Linked DNA regions of Homo sapiens: all the other regions are linked to region 2. Evidence: promoter capture Hi-C in human tissues and cell types (Jung and others, 2019). All regions are on one chromosome and are shown on one strand. Each heading gives the region's core, a stretch centred on a gene start or on the middle of the fragment in contact. The rest is flanking DNA. Distances are from core to core; before and after follow the strand shown. Region 1 has its middle 43 kb from the start of TGILR. Region 2 holds the start of FAM50B (family with sequence similarity 50 member B). Region 3 has its middle 33 kb from the start of PXDC1.

The links. The method cuts DNA at HindIII sites, captures the fragments that hold promoters and counts their contacts. A contact is called where the count stands out against the background at its distance.
Region 1: a fragment that was not itself captured here is called in contact with the fragment with the promoter of FAM50B in region 2 in 6 of the 25 tissues and cell types used here (H1 embryonic stem cells, IMR-90 fibroblasts, aorta and 3 more).
Region 3: a fragment that was not itself captured here is called in contact with the fragment with the promoter of FAM50B in region 2 in 2 of the 25 tissues and cell types used here (pancreas and spleen).

The regions. Positions count from the first base shown.
Region 1 is chr6:3,953,406-3,957,376 of GRCh38, forward strand. No RefSeq gene overlaps it. Among named protein-coding and RNA genes, the nearest start is that of TGILR, 43 kb to the left of the region's middle. The HindIII fragment of the contact is 7,045 bases long and covers 1-3,971 here.
Region 2 is chr6:3,846,858-3,851,109 of GRCh38, forward strand. It overlaps FAM50B (family with sequence similarity 50 member B), which reads left to right and starts at 2,516. Exons shown (of 2, transcript NM_012135.3): 1 at 2,516-2,629; 2 at 2,932-4,252. The coding sequence starts at 2,955. The coding sequence ends at 3,932. It overlaps LOC107986557 (a long non-coding RNA gene), which reads right to left and starts at 2,509. Exons shown (of 3, transcript XR_001743931.2): 1 at 2,459-2,509; 2 at 1,532-1,792. RefSeq lists a silencer at 2,190-2,309 and an enhancer at 2,580-2,699. The HindIII fragment of the contact is 6,203 bases long and covers 1-4,252 here.
Region 3 is chr6:3,782,493-3,786,433 of GRCh38, forward strand. No RefSeq gene overlaps it. Among named protein-coding and RNA genes, the nearest start is that of PXDC1, 33 kb to the left of the region's middle. The HindIII fragment of the contact is 7,817 bases long and covers 1-3,941 here.

The sequences.
Region 1 (3,971 bases), core at 1,175-3,674, 110 kb after region 2:
GCAGTATGGCCATTTTAATGATATTGATTCTTCCTATCCATGAGCATAGAATGTTGTTCCATTTGTTTGTGTCATCTCTGACTTCTTTGAGAAGCATTTTGTAGTTCTCCTTATAGAGCTCTTTCACCTCCCTGGTTAGCTGCCTTCCTAGGTATTTTTTGTGTGTGTGCCAATTGCGAATGGGATTGCATTCCTGATTTGGCTGTTGGCTTGACTGTTGTTACTGTATAGGAATGCTAGTGACTTTAGTACATGGATTTTGTATTCTGAGACTTTGTTGAAGTTGTTTATCAGCTTAAGGAGTTTTTGGGCTGAGACTATAGGGTTTTCTAGATATAGAATCATGTCATCTGCAAACAGGGACAGTTTGACTTCTCTTCCGATTTGGATGCCCTTTCTTTCTTTCTCTTGCCTGGTTGCTCTGGCTTGTTCTTCCAATACAATGTTGAATAGGAGTGGTGAGAGCGGGCATCCTTCTCTTATGCCAGTTCTCGAGGGGAATGATTCCAGCTTTTCCCCATTCAGTATGATGTTGTCTGTAGGTTTATCATGGATGGCTCTTATTATTTTGAGATATGTTCCTTCAATACCTCGTTTATTGAGTTTTTGACATGAAAGGGTATTGAATTTTATCAAAAGCCTTTTCTGCATATATTGAGATAATCATGTGGTTTTTGTCTTTAGTTCTGTTTATGAGATAAGTCACATTTATTGATTTGAGTATGTTAAATCAACCTTTTACCCCAGGGATAAACCCTACTTGATCGTGATGAATAAGCTTCTTGATGTGCTGTTGGATTTGGTTTGCCTGCATTTTGTTGAGGATTTTTGCATGGATGTTCATCAAGAATACTGGCCTTAAGCTTTATTTTTTTGTGGTGTCTCTGCCAGGTTTTGGTGTCAGAATAATGCTAGCCTCATAGAAAAAGTGAGGGAGGAGTCTCTCCTCAATTTTTTTGAATAGTTTCAGTAGGAATGATACCGCTTCTTCTTATACATCTGGTAGTATCTGGCTGTGAATCTATCTTGGACTGGCCTTTTTGTAGTCAGTAGGCTATTTATTACTGATTTAATTTCAGAGTCTGTTCAGGGATTCAATTTCTTCCTGCTTTCGTCTTGGGAGGGTATATGTGTCCAGGAATTTATCCATTTATTCTAGATTTTCTAGTTTGTATGCATAGAGGTGATAAACAGGAATTCTTAATTTGAATGTAGTCCAATTCGCCAATCTCTTTCTTTATAAGTACTGTTTTTTTTTGGTGATCTGTTTAAGAAATCTTCCTCTAACTTGATATTATAAAAATAATGTATCTTCTCTTATGTGCTATTTGTTAAACATTCATATTCTTTTTTTTTTTTTTTTTTTTTTTTTTTTTTTTGAGATGGAGTCTCTGTCTCCCAGGCTGGAGTGCAGTGGTGCAATCTTGGCTGACTGCAATCTCCACTTCCATGGTTCAAGCAATTCTTGTACCTCAGCCTTCTGAGTAACTGAGGCCACAGATACGCCACCACACTCCCCTAATTTTTGTATTTTTAGTAGAGAAAGAGTTTTGCCATGTTGGACAGGCTGGTCTCAAACTACTGGACTCAAGCAATCTGCCTGCTTCTGCCTCCCAAAGTTTTGGGATTACAGGCATGAGCCACTGTGGCCCACCTAAACATTTATTTTTAAAGTTACTTTCTGAAATTGATTGTTGTAGATGGTATATGTTCCAAGGTTTTCTTTTTTTTATATAGTTGTTCAAATGACTTTGCACCATTACTTTTTTAAATGTATTTTTTTCACTAGTCTACCATACTTTCTTTTTTCTTTTTCTTTTTTTTTTTTTTTTTTTTTTTTAGCCAGAATGTTGCTCTTATTGCCCAGGCTGGAGTGCAATGGCACGATCTTGGCTAACTGCAACCTCCACCTCCTGGGTTCAAGTGATTCTCCTGCCTCAGCCTCCCGAGTAGCTGGGATTACAGGTGCGTGCCACCACGCCTGGCTAATTTTTTGTATTTTTAGTAGAGACGGGGTTTCACCATGTTGGCCATGCTAGTCTCGAACTCCTGACCTCCGATGATCCACCCGCTTTGGCCTCCCAAAGTGCTGGGCTTACAGGCATGAGCCACCGTGCCCGGCTTACAATACTTTTTTTTTTTTTTTTTGAGACAGAGTATCACTCTGTCGCCTAGGCTGGGGTGCAGTGGCGCGATCTCGACTCACTGCAATATCTGCTTCCCGGGTTCAAGCAATTTTCCTGCCTCAGCCTTTTGAGAAGCTGGGATTGCAGGCGCCCACCACCATGCCCGTCTAATTTTTGTGTCTTTTAGTAGGGATGAGTTTTCACCATGTTGGCCAGGCTGGTCTTGAACTCCTGACCTCACGTGATCAGCCCACCTCAGCCTCTCAAAGTGCTGGGATTACAGGCATGAGCCACCGGCCAATACTTTCTTTGTCATAGATCACATACCTACATATGTGTGGCTCTGTTTTTGGACTTTGATTTTTCCATTGCTCTCTTTTCTATTCTTGTTTCAATGTTACTGTGTTAATTCTTGTGGCTTTATATTAAGTCTTAGTTTCTCTCGAGTGCTTTATTTTTTAGTTCTTTAAGGATGTCTTGGCTTTTCTTGGCCTTTTGCGTCTTGCATAAATTTTAGAATCAGGTTGCTAATTTGCTGAGAGTAGCAAGAAGGAGTGCCCCATTCATGGCCTTGTACTTTGAGGATTTTAATGGGTTGCAAGGAACTCATTTTGTGAGCAGCGATGAATCTGCTTCAGATAAAGTAAATCAGAGCTGGAGGTAGGGCAGGGTTCTTCATGCTAGCCTGGGGCTGCATAACTCAATGAACACTGGCTGAGGCAACAATGGGTCTTTTGTGATGAAACTGGTACCTACTCAGGCTATGGGGCCTGAGGTTTCATCATACATCATTGGGTTTATTAAAGCTTAAAAGTGATCTAATAATTAACATGCCAGCTACTAGTTATTTGTTGAGTTTTTTTCCTTTTTAGTCAGGGAAAATGAGAGTGAGGGAAAAGGAAAAGGAAGCAACCCTAAGGGGCAACAAGACCATTAATTATTACAAATATCAATAGGACACAAATGACCCTTTGTCTCTCAGGCTGGAGTGCGGTGGCGCGATCACAGCTCACTGCAGCCTCGACTTCCCAGTCTCAAATGATCCTCCTACCTCAGCCTCCTGAGTAGCTGGGACCACAGGTGCACATCATTATGCCCTACCAATTTTTAAATTTGTTATAGAGATGAGGTCTCCCTATGTTTGCCAGGCTGGTCTTGAACTCCTGGCCTCAAGTGATCTCCTGCCTTGGCCTCCCAAAGTGCTGAGATTACAGGCATGAGCCACTACACCTGACCCAAATGGGTAATTTAGTTGCATAAGGTCTTTCCTTCATAATCTAATTAGAAAACTTTGGGGCAGGACTCCAAGGCTTACTTTTGACCCTCATTCCACTCCTGCCCTACTCTTCATTGTTCTAAAAAATGGAAAAACAGGTTGATTACATATACTATTTAAGTTCCATGAAAGCAAGAAATGTGTCTATCTGGTTCACTGATGTATCTCCAGGGCTTAGAACAGTGCCCGGTGCATAGTTGATTCTCAATAAATATCAATGGAATAAATAAAATGTTCCACATTGCCTTGCTTCAAACTTCTAAAAAAATTAATAATAGCTTCTAACTAACCGCGACTTCTGGTAAACTTCATACCAGTTGCCCTTGTGTTACGTATTTGTTTTTAAAACAGCAATTCATTTATCTAGGTTTATGAAAAAATGAAAATAAACACTATGTTGTGGGGGCCCACTTGTTCAGTGTCCAGTGATATCAAACAACCTTAAATTCTAACCATAAATTATTTTGATAATATGTGTAAACATTCTGTTAGCCAAATGTGTCTATTAATCCAGGCTTTGCAGGCTTAACCCAAACAATTTGAGCAGGTGAAAGAAACAAGCCAACTAG
Region 2 (4,252 bases), core at 1,266-3,765:
AGAATGGATGTTGTGTTAGCAAGCATGAAATCAACTTTAATCTCCTTGAGCATCTCCATCAAGCTCTTAGGTGACCAAGTGCATTGTTAATGAGTAATAATATCTTGAAAGGAATAATCAGAGCAGTAAGTCTCAACACTGGGCTTAAAAATATTCAGTAAACCATGCTGTAAACAGATGTGCTGTCCTCCAGGTTTTGTTGTTCCATTTACAGAGCACAGGCACAGTAGATTTAGCATAATTTTTAAGGGCACTAAGATTTTCAGAATGGTAAGTGAGCATTGGCTTCAACTGAAAGTCTCCAGCTACACTAGCCCCTAGCAAGAGAGTCAACCTGTCCTTTGAAGCCATGAAGCCAGGCATTGACTTCTCCTCTCTAGATATAAAAGTCCTAAATGGCATCTTCTTCCAATAGAAGGCTATTTTGTCTACATTGAAAATGTATTGTTTAGGGTAGCCTCCGTCATCAGTGCTCTTAGCTAGATCTTCTGGATAACCTGCTGCAGCTTCTCCATCACACTTGCTGCTTCACCTTGCACTTTATGTTATAGAGGTGACTTCCTTCCTCAGCCTCATGAACCAACCTCTGCTACCTTCAGACTTTTCTTCTGAAGCTTCCTCACCTCTCTCAGCTTCACAGAATTGAAGAGACTTAGGGCCTTGCCCTGGATTAGGCTTTGGTTTAAGGGAATGTCGTGGCTGGTTTGATCTTCTATCCAGACCACTAGAACTTTCTCCATATAAGCAATAAGGCTGTTTTGCTTTCTTATCATTCATATGTTTACCAGGAAAGCGCTTTCAGTTTCATTCAAGATTTTTTTCCTTTGCATTCACAACTTAGCTAACTGTTTGGCAAAAGAGGCCTAGCTTTTGGCCTATCCTGGCTTTTGACATACTTTCCTCACTGAGCTGAATCATTTCTAGCCTTTGATTTAAAGTGAGAGACGTGTGACACTTCTTTTCACTTGAACACTTAGAGGCCATTGTAGGGTTATTAATTGGCCTAATTTCAATATTGCTGTGTCTCAGGCACTAGGGAAGCCTAGGGACAGGAAGAGAGATGAAGGAACAGCCAGTCAGTGGAGCAGTCAGAACATACATAACATTTATCAGTTAAATCAATAAACGTCTTTGTCTTCTACTGCACACTTCGGAGTGCCCCCAAACAATTACAATAACCTCACAGAACGATGATCACAGATCACCATAGCAGATATCACAATGAAAAAGTCTGAAATATTGCAAGAATTACCAAAATGTGACACAGGAACACGAAGTGAGCACATGCTGCTGGAAAAATGGAGCCAGTAGGCGCTTGACGCTGTGTTGCCACAAATCTTCAATTTGTAAAAACAAAAACAAAACACACAGTATCCCAGAGCTCAATAAAATAAGATATTCTTGTATTCTGGTGATGGGGCAACAATGAGAAGGCTTTAGATTAAAAAAAATGCTAATTTCCTAGATTAAGGCAAGTGGTGGGGAATGGGAGAAAAAGGAAAGTGTGAAAGGCTCTTCTGTAATTGATTACCTGTGGAGGAACGTCATTCCAGGAAAAGGCCTAGGTTTCTGGCTTGGACAATTTGATGAGGGCTCACACCGTGCTGTTCTCCTCTGGATATGTGGGTGCCATATGTAATTATCATATGATTCACGCTTCTTGGTAAGGTTATGCTCACAGGCATTGTTGCTCTTAGGCGGGAGGAGGCTGAACCGCAGTATGTATTTCACAACCAGCTTTTCCAAACTAGGTCCCAGGAAGCACTGGTTTCGGCGAGTGTTACCAGATCTCCTGCAGGGGAGAAACGGTCACGAAACATGAACTGGTCTGCCCTGCTCTTGGAGAGTTACAGTGGAAACTGGCATGTTAGAGGCTCACAGTAAAGACACTGCTACACTTTAACTCAGTGTCCCATGGTTATTAGAGCTTAGAACCCGGGGGAAACTGCTGTATAGAAGAGGTCAAACAAGCTGAGTGCAGGTTTTGTCACGAAACTGGGGGGCGAGTAGGGTTCTATTATCAAAGAATGGTTGTGTTGGGGCCATAAGAAAGAATTACAGGCAGTGGTGCGCAGGTAATGTTCACGAGACGCCACAGCGGGGTAGCATCAGAGGCGGGAGGAGGAGGGTTGGAGAGCAGGGCCGTGTTGCAAGGCTCTCTGGGTGGCCACAGCAGCTTGCGCTGCGCCCACATTGCTTCTGCGTGTTTACAGTTGGGCACGAGAAGGCTCAGCACGCACGCACAGCAGGTGGGGGCCCGCCCTGCCCACAGCGTGAAAACAGGAGCCCCGGCCAGCCACGGCTGGGCAGGGCCAGAAGCGCCTCCTCCAGGATCCTCCCCGCGCTGGCCCGCCCCACAGGAGCACCGCCCCTACCAGGAGCCCGGAGCTCTTCCCAGGGCCCGCCTCCCCGCCAGGGGGCGATCCACCTCCACTTCCTGTTTCCGCAGCCGCCCTACCAGGAGCCTGGCACTCTCCTCAGGGCCCGCCTCCCCGCCAGGGGGCGCACCGCCTCCACTTCCTGTGTCCACGGCTGTCGCGAGAGCCCGGGGCGAGTGGGCCTCTGCTCGTGGGTGGTTCTCGTGGAGGTCAGCTCCCGCGTGTCTCCGCTCGACAGGGTGCTTGGGCAGGTAAGGGTCCGCTCAGTAGCCCAACCCTCTCTGTATGCAGCTCCCCAAATTCAGCGCTGCGCTCAGGCATGGCAGCCACCCGTTACGTGGGGCCGTTCGCATTTGCATTTATTGAGGTCAAATAAAATGCTGGAAATTGGTGCCTGGTGACACTGTCAGGTTGGTGGTTACCCTAGCAGGTCGGCCCAGCCCCTGAACGCTTCCATCACTGCCGAAAGCCCTGTGAGGAGGCGCAGAGCTGAGCATTCCCCGCCGTTGCGTGGGCCCCCCTCTACCTGCCGCGTTTTTCCTCTTTGCTGCAGAGCCCATCGGGTAGGCGCGGGCCATGGCGCAGTACAAGGGCACCATGCGCGAGGCAGGCCGTGCCATGCACCTCCTCAAGAAGCGCGAAAGGCAGCGGGAGCAGATGGAGGTGCTGAAGCAGCGCATCGCCGAGGAGACCATCCTCAAGTCGCAGGTGGACAAGAGGTTCTCGGCGCATTACGACGCCGTGGAGGCCGAGCTGAAGTCCAGCACGGTGGGCCTGGTGACCCTGAACGACATGAAGGCCCGGCAGGAGGCCCTGGTCAGGGAGCGCGAGCGGCAGCTGGCCAAGCGCCAGCACCTGGAGGAGCAGCGGCTGCAGCAGGAGCGGCAGCGGGAGCAGGAGCAGCGGCGCGAGCGCAAGCGTAAGATCTCCTGCCTGTCCTTTGCACTAGACGACCTCGATGACCAGGCCGACGCGGCCGAGGCCAGGCGCGCCGGAAACCTGGGCAAGAACCCCGACGTGGACACCAGCTTCCTGCCAGACCGCGACCGCGAGGAGGAGGAGAACCGGCTCCGAGAGGAGCTGCGCCAAGAGTGGGAGGCGCAGCGCGAGAAAGTGAAGGACGAGGAGATGGAGGTCACCTTCAGCTACTGGGACGGCTCGGGCCACCGGCGCACGGTGCGGGTGCGCAAGGGCAACACGGTGCAGCAGTTCCTGAAGAAGGCGCTGCAGGGGCTGCGCAAGGACTTCCTGGAGCTGCGCTCCGCCGGCGTGGAGCAGCTCATGTTCATCAAGGAGGACCTCATCCTGCCGCACTACCACACCTTCTACGACTTCATCATCGCCAGGGCGAGGGGCAAGAGCGGGCCGCTCTTCAGCTTCGATGTGCACGATGACGTGCGCCTGCTCAGCGACGCCACCATGGAGAAGGACGAGTCGCACGCGGGCAAGGTGGTGCTGCGCAGCTGGTACGAGAAGAACAAGCACATCTTCCCCGCCAGCCGCTGGGAGGCCTATGACCCCGAGAAGAAGTGGGACAAGTACACCATCCGCTAACACCCGCCTGCCAGAGCGGAAACCGGGGGTGGGGGGAGACACTCATTTCTAGGCCCCATCACCAGTCACTTGATTTCGTGACCTTGATTTCTTCCCCCAAATTTAATAAAGACAGAGGGTTCTCATGATTCACATTGGTTGTGCTATTGCTGATGTTATGCTTTGGTTGCTTGGTTGGTCTTTTCTGAGTATTTTAGTGTTGCCACCTGGATTTGCTGCATTGCTCTGCTGAGCTGTATTGAAACCATGACTGGGCCCACTGTCAGACAGAAATTAGAATAGGAGGCACATTTTTTACCTGGTGGTTATGAGCATGGACT
Region 3 (3,941 bases), core at 1,375-3,874, 64 kb before region 2:
TGAGAGGTCAGACCGTCTGCCAGTGTGGAAGGAGCTGGGGCAACGAAGGGGGCTGCTGTGATCGCAAGGCGAATGGGGGGACCATGCGTTTCCTTTGCACCCTTGCACAGTAGTTTTTCGGGAGGGGGCTGCAGATTTTGGGTTGGAGAGAAGGAGCAGGGATTCCTGATTCCAACCTCTCTAGGCTGCCCAGGAGTTCACCCTCAGGCTTCCTGGGAGCAGGTTTGCACACCACTACCAAGGTGTGTTGCCGTCCTCAGTTCACGGTGCCACAGCCAGAGTCTGCACAAGTGGCATCCTGTTTCCTAATGCATCTTTAGCTCTCACGGATGCCTCGCCTTTGGTGGTCCCCCAAACAGATCCACGGCAGCATGTGCTGTGATGACTGCCCACCCCCACCCTCCTCCCAGGAAATTTCTAAAGAACTCCATCTGGCGTCCAGCAGCTTCGTGTTTGTTCTTTTTATAAATATGTTCTGTGATGAAATTCAGGGTTAAGCTTTCTGATCACATGATCTGTCCTGACTTCACAGTCATCCATTCTATCTGGATCAATGACATCTAAGTATTTCCATGGTCTCCAGGAGCTAAATCACAGCACCTGGCTTCTTGCTCTGCACGTGGCTGGGCCTGGCTCCCAGGACTCTCTGTCCTCCATGGACTGGTTGTGAAAGCCACACAAGAACCGGCTCAGGAGACCACGAGTGGGCAGGGGGCCCCTCCCTGGGGCTGGGTGCAGGCCAGCACCCTGGCAAGGTAGAAACAAATGGGCATCTCGACAGCCAAGCCAGGGCTGCTGAGTGTTTTATCCATCTTTCTGAGAGGCAGTGTTTTCATCATTGAGTCACCACTGGGTATGTTCAGGTGACCATCTCTATTTAGTCTCACTTCTGACCACATATGACAATCCTGGAAGCTTTCCAGAATCCCCGTGCCTGGACTCTACCCAGTACCAAATCAGAATCTCAGGGCATCAGTATGTTTTTAAACCTCCCCAGGAGATACCAAGGAGCGGCTGGGCTTGAGCATCTGCTCTCCGCCGGGACTTCTCACACTGTAATGTGCACACCAATCACCAGGGATCTTCTTCAAACGCACATCTTGACTCAGTAGGTCTGGGGAGGGGCGTGATTTCCGCGTTTCTGACTCGCTCTCAGGAGAGGCTGGTGCTGCTGATCCAGGTGCCACCCTTGGAGGGCAAGGGCACAAGTGTATCACAGTGTGGCAAACCATGGAAGGTTGGCCAGTTTTTAAAATTTCAATAGCCTTTGGGGTGCAACTGGTTTTCGGTTAGGTGGATGAATTGTCGGGCCAGTCTTTGTAAAAAGAGTTTTTGTTTTTGTTTGTTTTGTTTTTTTGTTTTGAACCTCCCGGGTTCAAGCGATTCTCCTGCCTCAGCCTCCGGAATAGCTGGGATTACAGGCATGTGCCACCATGCCTGGATAATTTTAAAGATATTTTTAGTAGAGATGGGGTTTCACCATGTTGGTCAGGCTGGTCTCGAACTCCTGACCTCAGGTGATCCGCCTGCCTCTGCCTCACAAAGTGCTGGGATTACAGGCATAAGCCACTGTGCCCGGCTGTAAAAAGAGTTTATTGGCTGGACACAGTGGCTCATGCCTGTAATCCCAGCACTTTGGGAGGCCAAGGCAGGCAGATCACAAGGTTCAGGAGATCAAGGCCATCCTGGCAAACACGGTGAAACTCCATTTCTACTAAAAATACAAAAATTTGGCCGGGCATGGTGGCACATGCCTGTAATCCCAGCTACTCGGGGGTCTGAGGCAGGAGAATTGCTTGAACCTGGAAGGCGGAGGTTGTAGTGAGCCGAGATCACACCACTGCACTCCAGCCTGGGTGACAGAGCAAGACTCTGCCTCAAAAAAAAAAAAAAAAAAAAGAGAGTTTTATTGAGACACAGCCATACCACACTCACACTATGAGGCAGGGATGCAACAGAGACTGTATGGCCTGAAAGCCTAAAATATTCACTCTCTGGCACTTTACAGAAAAAGTTTGCTGATTTAGAACTTGTTAGTATAGGTGCATCTGTCACAAGCTCAGCGGCCGGCATGGGCAGCCCAGGTAGGTAGGCCTCCCTATCACAGGTGGATGTGAGTCAGAGGGTCACGTTCCGTCATACAGAGCGGTGCCCAGTGTTTTCCCGTGACAGTGGCACTGTTCGTTCACCACAGTCACCCTGTAACCGGCAGCGGTGCTGTTGACTTCGTCATGCCAAGGGATATCCAGTTCCGAGCACCTTCTGTTGCGTGTCTAAGACACTGTGGGAGCCTTTGGGAGGCAGGATGGTTTAAAATGGGGCACAGTTCCATATCACTTAGACAGAAGGATCAGGGTGGATTGTGACCTCCCAGTGATTGTCAGCCCTTCTGTCCTCCTTTCAAAGCTTTCAGACTTGGGGATACAGTTTGGCTCTGTGTCCTCACCCAAATCTCACCTCAAATTATAATCCCCATAATCCTCAAGGGTCAAGGGCGGGGCCAGGTGGAGGTGATTGAATCATGGGGGCGGTTTCCCCCATGTTGTTCTCGTGATGGTGAGTGAGCTCTCACGAGATCTGACGGGCTCGGAAGCGTCTGGCCTTTCCCCGCTTGCACTCACTCTGTCCTGCCGCCCGGTGAAGAAGGTACGTGCTTCTCCTTTGCCTTCTGCCATGACTGTCGGTTTCCTGAGGTCTCTCCAGCAATGCAGAACTGTGAGTCAACTAAACCTCTTTTCTTTATAAATTATCTGGTCTCGGTATTTCGTCACGGCAGTGTGAGAATGGACTAATACACTTGGGTTACAATTTTGGCAGACAAAATTGTGTTTTCTGTGTTTAGAATTACCAAAAAAAAGTAGGGAGATGGGGATGGTTTACATATAATCTACTCCTCTTAAAAGTTATTGGAGTGCAGTGGTGCAACCTCGGCTCACTGCAACATTCGTCTCCTGGGTTCAAGCAATCCTCCTGCTTCAGCCTCCCAAGTTGCTGGGATTACAGGCGCTCGCCACCACGCCCTACTAATTTTTGCATTTTTAGTAGAGAGAGGGTTTCATCGTGTTGGCCAGACTGGTCTGGAACTCATGACCTCAGGTGATCCACCCGCCTCGGCCTCCCAAAGTGCTGAGATTACAGGCGTGAGCCACTGTGCCCGGCCCTGGCCGACTGTCTTAAATTGTGCAATCTAGTGTCCATAAAACTCTAATTATTTTGCTGTCATTTAAATTTTTTTACTATTTAAAAATTTCACGTGTAATTACAGATGGTACGTTTGTTGAGAAAACATATGTACCACAGTATTTGTAGTCAGAATTCAGAAATAAGCACTGTAATGTTTTAGTGTGTATCACATTTCACGTCATTTCTATGCAGAAATAGACCACATGCCACAGAGTGAACTTTGTCTCTAGCCTCAGCTTTCTCATCTCTAAAGTGGGGAGATCCTCTCCTGCTTCACGGAGTTGTTGTTAGGATGGAATGAGCTCGTATCAGTAAAGTGCTGACAGCACTGTATACTAAGTTTTGGAAATGGAATTTAACTGTTTTATAACCTGCTTACCAGGGTTTGGGGCCAGACATAAAATTCATGCACCCCACTTTTGTCACATTCCACTGGAGAGAGCTGAACCTCAAACTCACACCAGACTCCAAGAGACACAGAAAACATAGTGTCCTGAGCAGGCTGACCCAGCGTAAGGCCAGGACTGCAGAGAAAGGGAAGCAGGTTTTGGTGGAGAGCTGATCTCTGCCCCAGGGTATTTTACCATTTTTCTATGTAAGTGTTAATATTTTGCTTTTCGATATATGTGTGTTCTTTATAAATGAGGGACAGCAACCTTATGACTCATGTATATTGCAAAATTTTTCTTTGGTGTCACTTTTCACTTGCAAAAATTTTCTTTGGTGTCATTTTTCACTTTTAATTTTGTTCATGGAAT